Linked DNA regions of Homo sapiens: region 2 is linked to region 1. Evidence: promoter capture Hi-C in 16 types of primary human blood cells and fetal thymus (Javierre and others, 2016). All regions are on one chromosome and are shown on one strand. The core of a region is centred on a gene start or on the middle of the fragment in contact, and the rest is flanking DNA. Distances in the headings are between cores, read along the strand shown.

Evidence for each region. Contacts are between HindIII fragments. The CHiCAGO score rates a contact against its expected background, and 5 or more counts as called.
Region 2: the fragment with the promoter of MAPK8IP2 here is called in contact with the fragment with the promoter of SCO2 in region 1 in 7 of 17 cell types (neutrophils, M0 macrophages, total CD4 T cells and 4 more); the score reaches 7.4 in neutrophils.

The regions. Positions count from the first base shown.
Region 1 is chr22:50,524,348-50,527,409 of GRCh38, reverse strand. SCO2 (synthesis of cytochrome C oxidase 2) reads left to right here and starts at 1,812. Exons shown (of 2, transcript NM_005138.3): 1 at 1,812-1,938; 2 at 2,986-3,062. The coding sequence starts at 2,999. It overlaps NCAPH2 (non-SMC condensin II complex subunit H2), which reads right to left. Exons shown (of 20, transcript NM_152299.4): 20 at 2,630-3,062. It overlaps TYMP (thymidine phosphorylase), which reads left to right. Exons shown (of 10, transcript NM_001953.5): 6 at 127-245; 7 at 672-834; 8 at 934-1,164; 9 at 1,269-1,409; 10 at 1,492-1,658. The coding sequence ends at 1,640. RefSeq lists enhancers at 1-20, 41-240, 31-602, 411-710 and silencers at 801-1,630, 1,841-2,140. The HindIII fragment of the contact is 21,491 bases long and covers 1-3,062 here.
Region 2 is chr22:50,597,986-50,602,637 of GRCh38, reverse strand. It overlaps MAPK8IP2 (mitogen-activated protein kinase 8 interacting protein 2), which reads right to left and starts at 1,845. Exons shown (of 12, transcript NM_012324.6): 1 at 1,755-1,845; 2 at 744-849. The coding sequence starts at 1,819. RefSeq lists an enhancer at 966-1,466 and a silencer at 2,256-2,435. The HindIII fragment of the contact is 20,896 bases long and covers 1-4,606 here.

The DNA.
Region 1 (3,062 bases), core at 563-3,062:
CACCCCCATAATAAGGGACTTGACCCTCAATGCTCAGGGCCCCTGACCCCAAAGTCGGCATCCCCGAACTCTCCCAAGAAGCTCCAGGTTCTCCATTGTCTCCAACCTCCTCTGCCTCCCCCAAAGCCTCCATTCTCAGTAAGAAACTCGTGGAGGGGCTGTCCGCTCTGGTGGTGGACGTTAAGTTCGGAGGGGCCGCCGTCTTCCCCAACCAGGAGCAGGCCCGGGAGCTGGCAAAGACGCTGGTGAGCGGTGTGGCCTTTCCCTGGGCAAGCGTCTTGATGCGGGCCCAGCCTACCCTTCACCCCTCCCGTCCCCACTGCCTCCCTCCACTCAGCAGTCCTGCCTAACCCCAGTCCCACCCTCTTCTGCCCGAAGTCCCTCCCTCCTTCACGGCTTCCTAACCTGCTGTGACTTTAGAGGTCAAGGCTGGCCCGGCCTGGACCTGGGGAAGCCCTCTGTGGCGTTCCTGCCCCAGACCAAGTACAAGTTCCTCCTGGCCCCATGGCGAGGTGTCGCACTTCACTCGTGTCTCTTCCCCACCCCAATCCTTCCCTGACTTCATGCTGGGGGGCTGGCAACCCAGGGTGCAGCAGGGGCTGGAGTTCGACCAAGAACCGGCTGCAGAAGGCCCCGCCATGGGGGGTCCACGCTGAGCCTCCTCTCCGCAGGTTGGCGTGGGAGCCAGCCTAGGGCTTCGGGTCGCGGCAGCGCTGACCGCCATGGACAAGCCCCTGGGTCGCTGCGTGGGCCACGCCCTGGAGGTGGAGGAGGCGCTGCTCTGCATGGACGGCGCAGGCCCGCCAGACTTAAGGGACCTGGTCACCACGCTCGGTGAGGGGGACGGGGTGTAGGGGAGCGGAGGCGGCGGGGGGTGCTTCCCGCTGGGGCCGCCCCGACCCGGCCGCGCCTAAGACCCGTCCCCGCCCGCAGGGGGCGCCCTGCTCTGGCTCAGCGGACACGCGGGGACTCAGGCCCAGGGCGCTGCCCGGGTGGCCGCGGCGCTGGACGACGGCTCGGCCCTTGGCCGCTTCGAGCGGATGCTGGCGGCGCAGGGCGTGGATCCCGGTCTGGCCCGAGCCCTGTGCTCGGGAAGTCCCGCAGAACGCCGGCAGCTGCTGCCTCGCGCCCGGGAGCAGGAGGAGCTGCTGGCGCCCGCAGATGGTGAGCGTCGGGGGAGTCCCCGTCCTTCCGCCTCCGCCATCCCCTTCCCTTCCCGAGGCCCCGCCCCTTCCCGAGCCCGCGCCTCTCAGCCCCTCTCCCCGCAGGCACCGTGGAGCTGGTCCGGGCGCTGCCGCTGGCGCTGGTGCTGCACGAGCTCGGGGCCGGGCGCAGCCGCGCTGGGGAGCCGCTCCGCCTGGGGGTGGGCGCAGAGCTGCTGGTCGACGTGGGTCAGAGGCTGCGCCGTGGTGAGCGCCGCCCCCGCCCTGCTGGCCCCGCACCCCCGCCCAGCTCCGGCCGCGCGGCCTCTAACAGCCCCTCGCTCTGCAGGGACCCCCTGGCTCCGCGTGCACCGGGACGGCCCCGCGCTCAGCGGCCCGCAGAGCCGCGCCCTGCAGGAGGCGCTCGTACTCTCCGACCGCGCGCCATTCGCCGCCCCCTCGCCCTTCGCAGAGCTCGTTCTGCCGCCGCAGCAATAAAGCTCCTTTGCCGCGAAACCTTGTCAGTGCTTGGGCGGGAGCGGAAGGATCCAGGGCTGCGGAGGCGGGGGCCGTCTCGATGAACACGTGACCCCCGGCGGGCTCCGCCTTCCGCGCACGCGCTGAGAGCCTGTCAGCGGCTGCGCCCGTGTGCGCATGCGCAGCTCCGGGGACGCCTGCGCCCTGCCTGTGAGCGTGTGGCGCCCGCTTTCCCTGAGCCGGCGGGGCAGAGCGCAGGGAGCTGGAGGTCGGCGCTTCCTCTCGTGCTTGGTCCACTGACGCGCGGCCCCGCCGCGAGGTGCGGACGCCGGGGCTGGGAGGGGAGGAGGTAGCCCTGAGGACTCGCTGGACTCCGGGGTAGTTTCCCAGCTCCGGCTACTGCGCGGGGCTGGCGGGGCACACCCCAGGGCGCGCTGGAGGCCGGAGCGAGGCTGGGGCGCCCGTGGGAGGCTCCCAGCAGGCACCGGTGTTCTCGCGGCCAAGCACAGTTATAACGCGCTCGCGCGGCGCTTCGAGTGGTCCTGGAACCTTTCTGGCCACGAGGGCGCTGGCCTTGCTGGGGAGGGCACAAACCCAGAACCGCCCGGGCGGGGGTGCAGTGAGTCCTCGGGAGGGTGCCCTCAGCAGGAGGGGGCAGTGACCGGGAGTCCTGAGACCTCCACCTAGCAAACCTTCTGCGGGGGCCCGTGGGAAAGGCTCAAAGGTCACCAACGCAAAGGCAGGGCGTCGGCTGTGAGCCCGGAGGAGCTGCTGGGAAGCCTGGATGTGAGGAGGGTGGGGTTTTGTGGCGGGTGGAAGTGTCGTGCGTCTCTGCCAGGAGAGGTTAAACACAGCCGGCGGGCAGAGTCTGAGCTCCGGGGGTAGGTCGTGCAGGTTTTCTGCTGGGAGTGTGGAGGAAGGCCGCGGTTGGTTGAAGTGGCTGGAGGTAACAGGAAAGTGTTGGAGGAATCGGTTGCTCTCGGGGATTGCAAGCCAGAGAGTTACCCACCTCCTTTTAAGAAATGGGTTTATTGCAAATAGATAACGTGGTTAGTTCAGGCAAGGCATGCACTTGGAATGCTTTCCGTCAGCAAGAGGTTCACCTTGCTGAGGTGCAGGTGCAGGGCAGGGTGCGGTGACAGGCTGGTGATCCCAGGTAGAGGACAGGAGTGACAGGTGTGGTTGCCCAGGTGTGGATGTTTGGTGGAGGTGGAGTTCTGAGCTCAGGTGAGCAGCTGCAAATGCCTGTTAAGCCTGAACGTGGGCTGGGTCCTTCAGATGGGTGGCTGGTCTCAAGTCGCAGGGGCAGCCCAGGCACTGTCCTGGGCCTTCCCTTCTGGCTCCTGACGCCTGTGCTTGTTTCCAGGAGCATCAGATCCATGCTGCTGCTGACTCGGAGCCCCACAGCTTGGCACAGGCTCTCTCAGCTCAAGCCTCGGGTCC
Region 2 (4,652 bases), core at 596-3,095, 75 kb before region 1:
CCCATCTGCCTGGCTCTGCTAACCTCAGGGCATGGTTGACATTTCCTCTGGAAATTCTCCCTGATTCCTTCAGTGTGGATTGGGTTCCCTTCCCCCTCGTGGAACTTATGTCCCTGTTGGAATGCAGCCCTTGACACGTGGGCAGCCATTGTCCCTTACAAGTCTTTCTCCCCTACTAAGTTGCAGCTCCAGAGAGCAGCTGTCCTGTTCCACTCCCAGCACCCAGAAGCCCCCAGTACTTGCCACATGGCAGTTGCTCAGAAATGTTCTTCAATAAATGAAAGCAGAAATGTGGAGAGACAGGGAGGAGGAGAAGCAAGAGATGGACGAGAAAAGATTTCAGCAGGGGGAGACATGAAACAGACAGATGGGAGCTGCAGACGAGGGCACAGGGCTGCAGAGGGGACAAGGTTGTGATGGCAGCTGCCAGGGATTAGATCTTTCTGGGAGTGATCTGAGGACAGAGGGCACCCAAAGCAAAGGAGCACCTCCCTGCCCCGGGCTGGCCACCGATGGGGTCGGGGAGAATGCTGGGGAAGGCCCTGCGTGGAGGCCTGCAATGTGTTGGAATAAGAGAGAGTTGATACCAAGGAAACCTCAAGGGTTAAGTGGGGAGGAGCCATCAGAGGAGTCCCCGGTTCAAGGCTGAGCTCACACCCACCCTAAAACCCCAAGTGAACGCTAAGAAGAACCTAATGAGGCCCTCCCTTGAGCTGGATCTGTGTCCCCAACTCTTCTCCCACCTTCTCACAGTGGTCTGAGTCGTAGCTGAGGCCCAGGCCACAGTCATCAGTGATCTCAGACAGATCTTCGTCGTCAAATTCTTCCAGGCTTATGTCCTGGGGAGGCCTGGAAAGGAGACCAGGGTCAGAGAGCCACCAACCCTGGACTCCCTGCCTGGCAACTGGCCCTGAGGAGGGGCAGAGGGAGGCGTCAGCTCCTACACCCAGTGGTTTCCACAGCCCCCAGCTCTCGGAACACATCCTGCCATCATCTTGACCCCCAAGCTCTGCTCGCCTGTGGATCCCCTCCCCCATCTGAGCCAGGCCTGCCCGGAGGAGCCAACCCTGCCCCCACCCCTCCCACCCCGCCTCCCTGGAGAGCCAGCAGCCTCTCCTCCCTCCACTCGCAGCTCCAGGCCCCTGGGGTCAGGGTCTTGCAGAGCAGGGGAGGGGGAGCTGCAACGCGGCAGCGGCAGATGGGGAGGGGTCGCTCCTGCTCTGGGAAGAGAGTCTGGCCTGTTTGTCTCCCCCTCTCCGGCGGAGTGAGGCCTAAACCCAGAGGCCCAGCGTCCTCCCAACCCCAGTCCCTTCCCGCAGGGCTCCGGGCTTGATTTCCACTCTCTCCCGGCCGGGCCCTATCGGCCAGGTCTGGCGTCCACTGAAAGAGGCCAAGGCCACCGGGACACGCCGCGCCGGGAGGGTGTGCCCGCATCCCGCCCGCATCCTCCCCCGCAGAGGGTCGGCCCAGGGCCTCCACCCTTGACAGGTCAGCCGTCCAGGCCGGGCGCGGCTCAGAATCCCGGCGGGGCCCGGGGGTCACTGAGGCTGGGGACGCGCGGTGAAGATGGAGGGAGTGGGAGCGGGGTGGGGGTGGGGCGCCCGAGCCGAGGCTCAGGGACCGCAGGGGGCCGGGGCCGGGTCCGCGCCGGCGGCGGGGCTGGGGCGGCGGGGACGGGGGTCCGGGCCGGGTCGGGGTCGGGGGGGTGCGCAGGGAGCGGAGGGTCCGCCCGGCCCGGGCGCCGAGGGGGGTACCTGCAGCCCGGCGGCGACAGCGAGTGGAAGGTGGAGAGAGAAAACATCTCCGCGCGATCCGCCATCTTCTCCGGGAGAGGCCCGCGACTGCGGCGGGGGGTGCGGGAGCCTCGCCGCGCCCCGCGCCGGCGCTCGGCCCGCCCCGCTCACCTCGTGACACGCCCTGCGGCGTCCGCCCCGCGCACCTCGCCCGGACTCCGCGGCGGCGCGGGGAGGGCGGCGGGGGAGGCGGGGGAGGGACGCGGCCGGGGACGCTGGTTGGAGGAGAGGCGGCGGCTTCACTGCCGGGCGCTGGTTGGGGAAGGGCCGGGCGTGCGATGAGGATTTTTCCCGGGGAGGGGCGGGAGGGAAGGGGCGGGCGGGTGGGCGTCGGGCCCCGCCCTGGAGGACCCGCGCGGGGCGGGAGGCCGAGGAGGCAGCGCCGGGGTCCGCGGGCCTCGGGTTCGCCGTGGGCTGTTTCCTCTGGGCGAGAGGCCGGGGCGGCCCCGGGAGCTGCGCCGCCGCGCCCAGGATCCCCCCAGGAACCCTAACCCGGGTGCGGCCCGGAGCGGGGTGGCGGGCGAGGCGGGAGGCGCGGGAGGAGCTGTCCGCCGTCGGGTGCTGATCGGAGCTGTCCCCACGGGGTGCTGACCGGGGCTGCACGGGGACGTCTGCACGAGGGTCGCCGAGCAGGGCTGGATTCAGAATCGAGCACAAGGTACTCAGAGGATGCTGGCTGGGGCTAAAAGTGGACTTTGAGCACTCAGTAGAGACTGCACAGCCGGACGGACGTACCGACGGGCACTGGGAGAAGTTAGCACCCACGGAGGCGACATGCGTCCCACTGGAAACACTTTTTCTTGGGCACCGTGTTGCTGGGCCCTGTGTAGGGAACTGACCCGCTCTGGCTTGGGATGGAGCCCTGTGGGGAGGGCCATGGTTGAAGCTGAGCTCGAGACGGTGGCTGTGGGAGGAGGCGGGAGATCAGGGTTGAGGGCGCAGAACTAGGGAGAGACTGCAGGACACTTTTTTTCTTTCTAAAATAGAGACCGGTGGCTGGGCGCGGTGGCTCACGCCTGCAATCCCACCACTTTGAGAGGCCAAGGCGGGTGGATCACGACGTCAAGAGATCGAGACCAGAGACCATCCTGGCCAACATGGTGAAACCCCGTCTTTACTAAAAATACAAAAAAATTAGCCGGGCGTGGTGGCGGGCGCCTGTAGTCCCGGCGACTTGGGAGGCTGAGCCAGGAGAATCATTTGAACCCGGGAAGCGGAGGTTGCAGTGAGACGAGATTGCGCCACTGCACTCCAGCCTGGCAAGAGCAAGACTCCGTCTCAAAAAAAAAAAAAGAGAGAGAGAGAGACCGGCTCTCTCTGTATTGCCCAGGTTGGTCTCAAACTCCTGGGCTCAGCTATCCTCTGGCCTCAGCCTCCCAAAGTGCTGGGATTACAGGTGTGAACCACAGCACCTGGCTAAATATTGGCTAAAGAAGGAGGCTGGCATTTCAACAAAAGCGCAATCCCTTTTCCCCCTTGATGAAAGTTATGTGCCCTAAGATTTCTTTATGTCTTAGTTCTGCGGAAAATTCTTTTTTTTTTTTTTTTTTTTTTTTTTTTTTTTTTTTTTGAGACAGAACTTGCTCTGTTGCCCAGGCTGGAGTGTAGTGGCACGATCTCAGCTCACTGTAACCTCCACCTCCCGGGTTCAACCGATTCTCGTGCCTCAGCCTCCCGAGTAGCTGGGATTACAGGCAATCACCACCATGTCCGGCTAATTTTTGTGTTTTTAGTAGAGATGGGTTTTTGCCATGTTGGCCAGGCTGGTCCCAAACTCCTGACCTCAGGTGATCTGCCCTCCTTGGCCTCCCAAAGTGCTGGGATTACAGGCGTGAGCCACCGCCCCTGGCCTGGAAAATTATTCCTTAGGAAAGGACAAGGCACTTGAGTGACAAACACCAGAAACGACATGGCAGAAGGAGCTCATGCAAGTCGGGAAGGGGGGTATCACCATTCCAGCTCAGAGAGAGGCCTGTGGCCAGGGCCTGATTGAACCTGCACTCTTTGGTGTCCCATCACAATTTATATTTTATGCCAATTACAGTATTTTTCTAAGAATGGCATTTACTTGGCTGGGCACAGTGACTTACACCTGTAATCCCAGTACTTTGGGAGGCCAAGGTGGGTGCGTCACTTGAGCTCAAGAGTTTGAAACCAGCCTGGAAACATGTCTCTACCAAAAATAAAAAAAATTGGCCGAGCCCAGGAGGCAAAGGTTGCAGTGAGCTGAGATCACACCACTGCATCCAACCTGGGGGGCAGAGTGAGATCCCATCTCAAAAAAAAAAAAAAAGCCATTTACTAGTTTATGCTTGCCTTCTTGACTTGGGTTGGCTGGAGAGAAGAGAGGCTGTCATCTCTCTGTGAAGCCCTAGGCTCCAAGCATGGTGCCTGGCAAACAGTAGGTGCTTAGCAGACATGTGAATGAATGAATGAGAGAGCTTATGGTCTCTAACCCAGTCTGGGGCATCAGGTCTTTGCCATAACAGTCTTTTCCCTTTTAGAAGCACTAAGAACATTCCCCATTTCTGAGGGAGTCTGGGCCTATTAACCACTCCCTGCCTTTCCCAAAAAATCCAGATCCCTTCCCAGATTTCACAGAGAGTTTGACCTCAACTTTCCAGATTGGCTTTTGATCCTGAGTCTTTTCACCAAACTGGTTCATCTGGACATCCACATAAATGACCCATCCAATACCCTGGTCAGTCAGTTCCTTGATTTCTGATCTGTCAACAGTCTTTAATACTCAAGTGTAGTGACCTCTCCCACAAAGTGCCTCCAGGATCTACCTTCATCTGGAATTGCAGCAAGCTTAAAATCTTTTTTTTTTTTTTTTTTTTTGAGACAGGGTCTCACTCT